Linked DNA regions of Homo sapiens: region 2 is linked to region 1. Evidence: promoter capture Hi-C in human tissues and cell types (Jung and others, 2019). All regions are on one chromosome and are shown on one strand. The core of a region is centred on a gene start or on the middle of the fragment in contact, and the rest is flanking DNA. Distances in the headings are between cores, read along the strand shown.

Region 1 (3,675 bases), core at 661-3,160:
CAAACAAACAAAAATTAGCTGGGCGTGGTGGCATGCGCCTGTAATCACAGCTACTTGGGAGGCTGAAGCAGGAGAATTGCTTGAACCCAGGAGGTTGCAGTGAGCTGAGATGGCACCACTGCACTCCAGCCTGGGCGACAGAGTGAGCCTCCAGCTAAAAAACAAAAAGTTTTCCAAGCTCAACACTCATGAGCTGGGCTCCCAGAGTCCCCATCAGGGATGACATCCCCTAAATCCCAACCCCTGCCTCACTCCTAGCAGTCAAGGGCTCAGGGCTGCACTTCTGGCTACTACCCTATATCTGAATTTGCCCACCAAGCAGACAGGTTTTAAGTCTGGACTGTTTCCTTCTCAGTGTTGTTATGAAGGCTTAAGCTCTGCATTAAGTTTCTACAAGTTCCACAGCATCAGGTCATATGGTTTTCCTCAGGGTCAATGTTAATGTGTGCTGAACTGGCTGGAGGACTGCCAGGCCCTGTGAGAAGCCTACGTTCATTCATCCATGTCCTTGGAGTCCTAACATCAGCCTTAGCAAGTAGGTCCTGTTTTTGTCTCCACTTTTCAGATAAGGAAAGTGATGCCTAAAGAGACAAAATTCTCTGTCCATGGTCATAGCCTGGATTTGAACCAGGGTCTTGGGACTCTTGGAGTTTGTAGGCTTACCCCAATATATGCCTGCCTCTAAAGTCATGGCCACTAATTTCCTGTGGGCTGAGTTGTGTGTTTCAGAGGAGGGTCTAAGAAACACTGACTTCTTTCAGTGTGCTGTGGGGTCTGTGTGTAACTGGGACCCTAGATTTACCCCTGAGGCTGGCATACAGCCCTGCCCTGTCCCCGCTAACAAAAGTGGACTTGCTGGGGCAGACCAAAGGCCTGGGTCAGACCAGGAGGCCACCTTACAAACCCCAAGGCTGGCAAAAATGGGCGGCCTGTGCCTCTGGCCTGGTGTACCTAAAATGGAGAGAGATGAGGGTTCCAGGAGAACCAGAGAGGGAGGAATGAAATTCCTCCAAGGAGCCCAGGGTGGCATGTCCGACTGTGTGACACGTAGACAGGGCCTCCGCAGGGAGCCACGCGCTACCCCCAGGTCCAGCCGGCTGTCTTCTTATAATACCCACCAGCCTTTTTCCCTGCCCACCAGCCGCTGAAAACTCCCACCCCCTCCAAAAAAAAGTTCTATTCCCTCTTCTCTGACCACAAAGGCACTGAAAACAGTGGAACCAGAAGGGGAGTCAGGGTGGGTGGAAAGGTACGGGGTCCAGGCTGATAGACCATCCCAGGGTTCTTAAGCAGCAGGGACCACCCCCTTCCCCCCAACACTGTAGATCAGAACACCCCTCTCCATCAGGTCATTACATACAGCCCTGGTAACTACACAAGGCAGTTCACCTTGATTATCGAGTCCTTTCCGGGATGTGGAGAGCTTGTGAGAAAGAAATGGGATCCTTTGAGAAGTGAGGGTTTGGAAGTGGGGGCAGGAGGGTATCTTTGGGGAGATGGGTGTCTGGGAGGCCCCAGGGGTGCTGTCTAGGGTTAGAGTATTGGGATGCAGAGCTTAAAAGAGGCAACAAGGAAACAGGACCCCGGGTTCAGGGGACGGAGTGGTGAATCCGGGGGCGCCCAACCGGGGTTACCTTGAATCAAACTTCTTGCCATCTTCAAAAGTGCCGTTGTAGTGGTAGCGCACAAAATCCCCCATCTGCACTTCCCGGGGACAGGCCCTGGGGATGTGGTACCTCTCGATGACCACATCTTCCAGGGGGCCCCCGGCCGGGCTGGCGCGGCCCAGCCCCCTCCCCACGGCCTGCACCACCAGTAGCAGCAACTGCAGCAGGGGGAGCCGGAGGAGGCTGTGGCTGGGGGGGCCCGCGGGGAACATGGTGCCTGGAGTTGGGACCGCCGGCAGTGAGGGCGAGCGAGGGAGTCGCCACCAACCTCCTTCCCCCCGCCTCCCAGAACTGGCTCCCCCTCTTCCTGTCCTCTTTCCCTACCCCCGCCCTGGCTGGTCCACGTGGAATGGGGGCTGGGAAGACTGAGCTGGCCTGGCCGGGAGGAGCGGGGGAGGGGGTTGCAATAGGAGGAGGGGGCCAGGCTGAGTGTGTTAGAGTCTGAGGGAGGCACTACAAAGAACTCTAGGTTCCCCCTCCCCCCATCTCCATCCCTGGCTGCGAGACCTGGGGCCTGGCCAGGGAGAGAGGCTCGGGAAAGATGAGAACTCTGAGTGGACACCAAAGGAAAAAAAAAAAAAAAAGTTCAATGACTTTTTCCGGAGCCCCCGGGTCCTAAAGCCGGGCGGAGATGAACCTTGCTTCTTTCGCGGGCACTTCGAATTCTAGTCCCCTCCAGGTGGGTGGTGAAGCCGCGGAGTGTGAGAGGCATCTCCGTGCTCATCCGTGACCCCAGCTGTACTCCAAGGGAAGGCATCTCCAGGGAAGAGCAGCTTGGTCCCGCAAAAGCTGGACTGAAAGAAGGACTTTGTGACTTGGGATGTGACGGGCACGGAGATGGAGTGGGGGGTGGTGGCAGCGCAAGGTGTGCAGGTGACAGCAGGTGTGTGCCTCCGACGTGGGCGGGGGAGACACTCGGAGGGTGCAGGAGGGCGCAGCGACGGAAGGCCCGGCTCCAGGGCTTCCTTCTCGTATGGGCAGCGCAGAGGAGGCGGCCCTCACTCAGTGTCCTGATCTCAGGCGGGGGCACTGTTTGCATGGGGAGGGGCTTCCTGGGCTTCCCATCTCTGGCGGGAAGCGCTCCCCGACGCATTCTCTACCTAGGGGACACCCCCAAGGCAGGAGCCCGGGCCGACGGAGAGGACTTAACGACACTATCGGACCCTCTGGGAAAAGAGGGGAGACGTCGTGACCCAGGCCCCGCCCCACCTTGCCGCCTCGTGCCCGGCGCTAAGACCCAGCGGGCGCGCCGCCCGCCCGGGGCCCGGCCCTGTCCCCTTCCGTCCGCGGGGCAGCCAGCTCAGCTCCGGAGAGCCGGCGGCGCGGCGGGCATGGCTCGGGTGGCGTGGGGGCTGCTGTGGTTGCTGCTGGGCAGCGCCGGGGCGCAGTACGAGAAGTACAGCTTCCGGGGCTTCCCGCCCGAGGACCTGATGCCGCTGGCCGCGGCGTACGGGCACGCTCTGGAGCAGTACGAGGGAGAGAGCTGGCGCGAGAGCGCGCGCTACCTGGAGGCGGCGCTGCGGCTGCACCGGCTCCTGCGCGACAGCGAGGCCTTCTGCCACGCCAACTGCAGCGGCCCCGCGCCCGCGGCCAAGCCCGATCCCGACGGCGGCCGCGCAGACGAGTGGGCCTGCGAGCTGCGGCTCTTCGGCCGCGTCCTGGAGCGAGCCGCCTGCCTGCGGCGCTGCAAGCGGACGCTGCCCGCCTTCCAGGTGCCCTACCCGCCGCGGCAGCTGCTGCGTGACTTCCAGAGCCGCCTGCCCTACCAGTACCTGCACTACGCGCTGTTCAAGGTGGGAGCCCGCCCCCACCCGGGGACCTGTCTCGGGCTGGGCGTCGTGGCTCCCCACAGATCGGTCGAAGGAGCGTTATCTTCACCCAAGGCACGAAGCCCGCCGTGCGCTCGGGGCCGCGAGCTCCGGTCTTGCTGACCCGCTCCCCCACCCCCTACCCCCCGACCAGGCTAACCGGCTGGAGAAGGCGGTGGCGGCGGCCTACACCTTCCTCC
Region 2 (3,512 bases), core at 990-3,489, 320 kb before region 1:
AGGTTGCAGTAAGCAGAGATCGTGCCACTGCACTCCAGCCTGGGTGAGAGAGCGAGATTCTGTCTCAAAAAAAAAAAAAAAAAACTTAAGAAAAAAAAAGAATTTGAGACCCACTGACCTGTAGTGTCCAGAGCAGAGGGAACCCCGGAGCAGGGAAGAACAGTGTCCCATTTTTCTTTCTCTTTCTCTTCCATCCTTGGCCCAGAAGTGCCTGTGCACAGGGCCAGGGTGTTTAGGAGCTTAGATCCCTTCTGCGCTTTCATGTGCATTGTATTAATAGGAAAATAGTGTGACTCCAAGTCCTTATACATTCTCTCCCCTTTCCTGTGGAAGACATGAGGTTGGGACTGGTGCTTGTTCTTAGTGGCCTCTGAACAAGCCAGGGTTCTGATTTGGATGGTGGGTCCATGGCAAGGAGAATCTTTCTCCCTAGATCTGAAGCTCCAGCACGGCCATTGTACTTGTGAAAAAAAGTCAACTTTTTTTTGAGACAGAGTCTTACTCTTTTGCCCCAAGCTGGAGTGCAATGGCGCGATCTCAGCTCACTGCAATCTCTGCTTCCTGGGTTCAGGCAATTCTTGTGCCTCAGCCTCCCAAGTAGCTGGGATTACAGGCGTGTACCACCACGTTGGCTAATTTAAAAAAATCAACTTTGACTGTAACTTTAGCTCTTATGGAGAATTTGATTTTTGTCTCAAAGAAGACTTTGAAAACTATGTCAGTTTTGGCTATAATTCCATCACCTGACTGCACAAGTGGATAATTTTTGCCAGGGGTTCAAAAAGAAAGATTGCCAGTAAGACACACATCCCTGGGAGGCAGGACAGCTCAGTGAATGCATTCACCTTTACTACCTGCCATGTCTTCAGTTTCCCAGGCTTGGGAGGAGAGGGTATAATGCTTCCTGGGGCTCTCGGTCTGGCCTTCCCCTGGCTTAGACACCCTCATATCTCCGTGCGCCCTTCCTAGCAAAATTGGCTTCCTTGGGCTTTATTGACTGCAAAGGTTGGACACCACTGCTCATTTGATCACCAAGCAGGGCCAGGCAAACCACTAGGCAACAGACCGTAAAAAGTGCTGGGTGTGCCTGCTCAGGTATCTCTGGAAGGCAGGATCAGTGACCAGGCAGAACATGTCACCAGCTAGTTCATGCCAGGGAGAGCCTGTCTCAGTTCATTGGGATGGCCAGAGTCTGTTCACCAACAGTCTTGGAGAAAGTGTTACAAATAACCCTGTCAGTACTCTTAGCTACTGTTTACTCAACATGATGTGTGTGAGACAGCTGGCAAACACTGCCATTAACCCTGGTGTGCCCCATATTAGTGATGAGAACACTGAGGCTCAGCTCAGGTGGCTTCTACAAAGTGATTCAGAAGTGGCAGGAGACAGTCACATCTGTGGTGCCGAAAGCCAGTGCCTGTGCTCACTCTCTCTCTGCCAGATGCTCTAGCCCTGGCTGTGCTTCAGTGGGTGTGCTTCACCTGCAGATGCTGGGCTCTGTGCCAAACCTTCATGAGAATCTCGAGGGGCTGGCTGCACAGATGACTTCAATGTACAGACACCGTTGAGAACCACTGCAGGAGAGTTATTTGTCTCCCCTTCTGGCTTGTTTTTAAAAATCACATTCTGTTCCTCTAACCCTGTGGTTTGGTAGTGACAAGACTTAGATCTGTTACCTGTATTTTTCTCGACCTGTAGGTGCTGGTTACTTCCCAGCTCGGTACCCTAAGCACCAGCTGCTTTGGTTTTTTTGGAATCAGAGACTTGGTTTTCTATTACCATCTCCCAGTCCATTCATACCTCCTCCTCCAGTGCCCCAGCCACAGACCATTGCTCAGCCAAGACTCTGTGTCACGTGGATTCATGGTAATAACCAACTTGTAATTCCACTGTGGTTTTCCCTCTGTTGCTGTCGCCCTGCCTGGCTCTGGGCGGCTCCTCCCACTGTTGAGGGCACTCAGAAACTGCAAGATTACTGTGACTGTTGCTAGAGCCAGCTAGAGCTAGACCTTCCTGGACCAGCAAAGTTGCTGCCACAAAAAAAGAGAGTTTCATTCACCTAGCAGCCCTAAACCAAACATAGGGCAGGCACTGCCTCCATTGTTCTTCCACAGCAGGGAGGATGGCATCATGTCTATGGTGGGTCTGGGGGGTTCTGTCACCTGTAGGCTGGGTGACCATGAGCAGGACATTTAATATATGAATGTTAAATTATCTATCTGAAAAATGGAGGTTGTCGTAAAGCTTGAAGGAGATAATAGTTGTGCAATTGGGAAGCTGAGGCGGGAGGGTTGCTTGAGGCCAGGAGTTGGAGACCAGCCTGGGCAACACAGTGAGACTCCATCTCTGCAAAAAAAAAAGAAAGAAAGAAAGAAAGAAAATTTTAATTAGCTGGGTGTGGTGGTGTATACCTGCTGGAGGCTGAGGCAGTAGGATCTTGGAAGCTGCAGTGAGCTGTGATCACACCGCTGCACTCTAGCCTGGGCAACACAGTGAGACCTTGTTTCTTTAAAAAAAAAAATTATTTCCTTCCATCAGCACTCTTTGAGTTCCTAGTATGCACATAGGCACTGTGAGGAAGGCATCTCTAAGAAGCAGAAAGCACAGACCTTGTCTCTTCATTGACTGAGGTGAAATGAGAAAGCGTCTTAAACTATGAAAAATTGAAATGACATAACTTTGAAATATTTACATGGTATTTCTGGTTGCTAATTGAGACCCACCACCCCGTACTTCCTTCCTTGTACTTTTGGGGAAGAGGTGGGCCCCATTTCAAACCTCTTTTCCTTTGGTTCTCTCCAGAAAGGAAACTGTTGTTTCTGGCTAGTGAATCATTCTTCCTGAAGCTCACTTTTTAAATGAGTTGCTGGGAGAACTTGGATGTGGAAAACGATTTGAGGTTGAACAAAACAAGCCCTTTGCTGTCAGCTTCTTGCATGAATGTGGACCATTTGCTTCCCACAGATACCTCCTGTTCATCCACATTGCTGTCCCTTAACCATGAGGGAATGTACTTCCCTTGCTCAGGGGCAGATCGGGGCTCTCCCTGGGATCTTAGACTCCATTATGCAAAGGGCAGCCTAATAAAAACCTTTTCTTTCCAACCCAGGTTCAAATGCTGAACAGTGTTCAGTACTTAATACCTACTCACAGGACCTGTTTGTAAAACATTCTGTATATATTCTGATGTCTGTTGACATCAGATGTATATGTCTGATGAGACATCCACTTATGTCTTCTAGAGGCTTCTAGAGATAGGCTCCTCATGTGTCTGCAATTCCAAAACTTAACAAAAACAAAAAGTTGAGCCTCTGAAGCTGTCACTAACCAAGTGATTCAGATGTCGGGACTGGAACACCAGCTGTTGGGGATGCAGGACTTGGTCTCTGCCCTCCCACACCTCCTGCCTCTTCTTTCTCTCCATCGCCCCATCTCTGCCAGTAGAGAATGGAACTGAGGTCTCTATTGAAAAAGGGAAAGTTGGTAGCTGTGCTGACTGTGGCAGAGCTATG

The links. Contacts are between HindIII fragments. The study calls those that stand out against the background at their distance.
Region 2: a fragment that was not itself captured here is called in contact with the fragment with the promoter of FKBP10 in region 1 in 1 of the 25 tissues and cell types used here (pancreas).

Annotation. Positions count from the first base shown.
Region 1 is chr17:41,811,239-41,814,913 of GRCh38, reverse strand. FKBP10 (FKBP prolyl isomerase 10) reads right to left here and starts at 1,910. Exons shown (of 10, transcript NM_021939.4): 1 at 1,635-1,910. The coding sequence starts at 1,879. P3H4 (prolyl 3-hydroxylase family member 4 (inactive)) reads left to right here and starts at 2,965. Exons shown (of 8, transcript NM_006455.3): 1 at 2,965-3,460; 2 at 3,630-3,675. The coding sequence starts at 2,999. RefSeq lists enhancers at 1-109, 2,596-2,705 and a silencer at 2,846-3,335. The HindIII fragment of the contact is 16,914 bases long and covers 1-3,675 here.
Region 2 is chr17:42,131,553-42,135,064 of GRCh38, reverse strand. The region is part of intron 1 of RAB5C (RAB5C, member RAS oncogene family); the gene reads left to right. Among named protein-coding and RNA genes, the nearest start is that of HSPB9, 11 kb to the right of the region's middle. RefSeq lists enhancers at 1,143-1,192, 1,763-1,812. The HindIII fragment of the contact is 4,681 bases long and covers 1-3,512 here.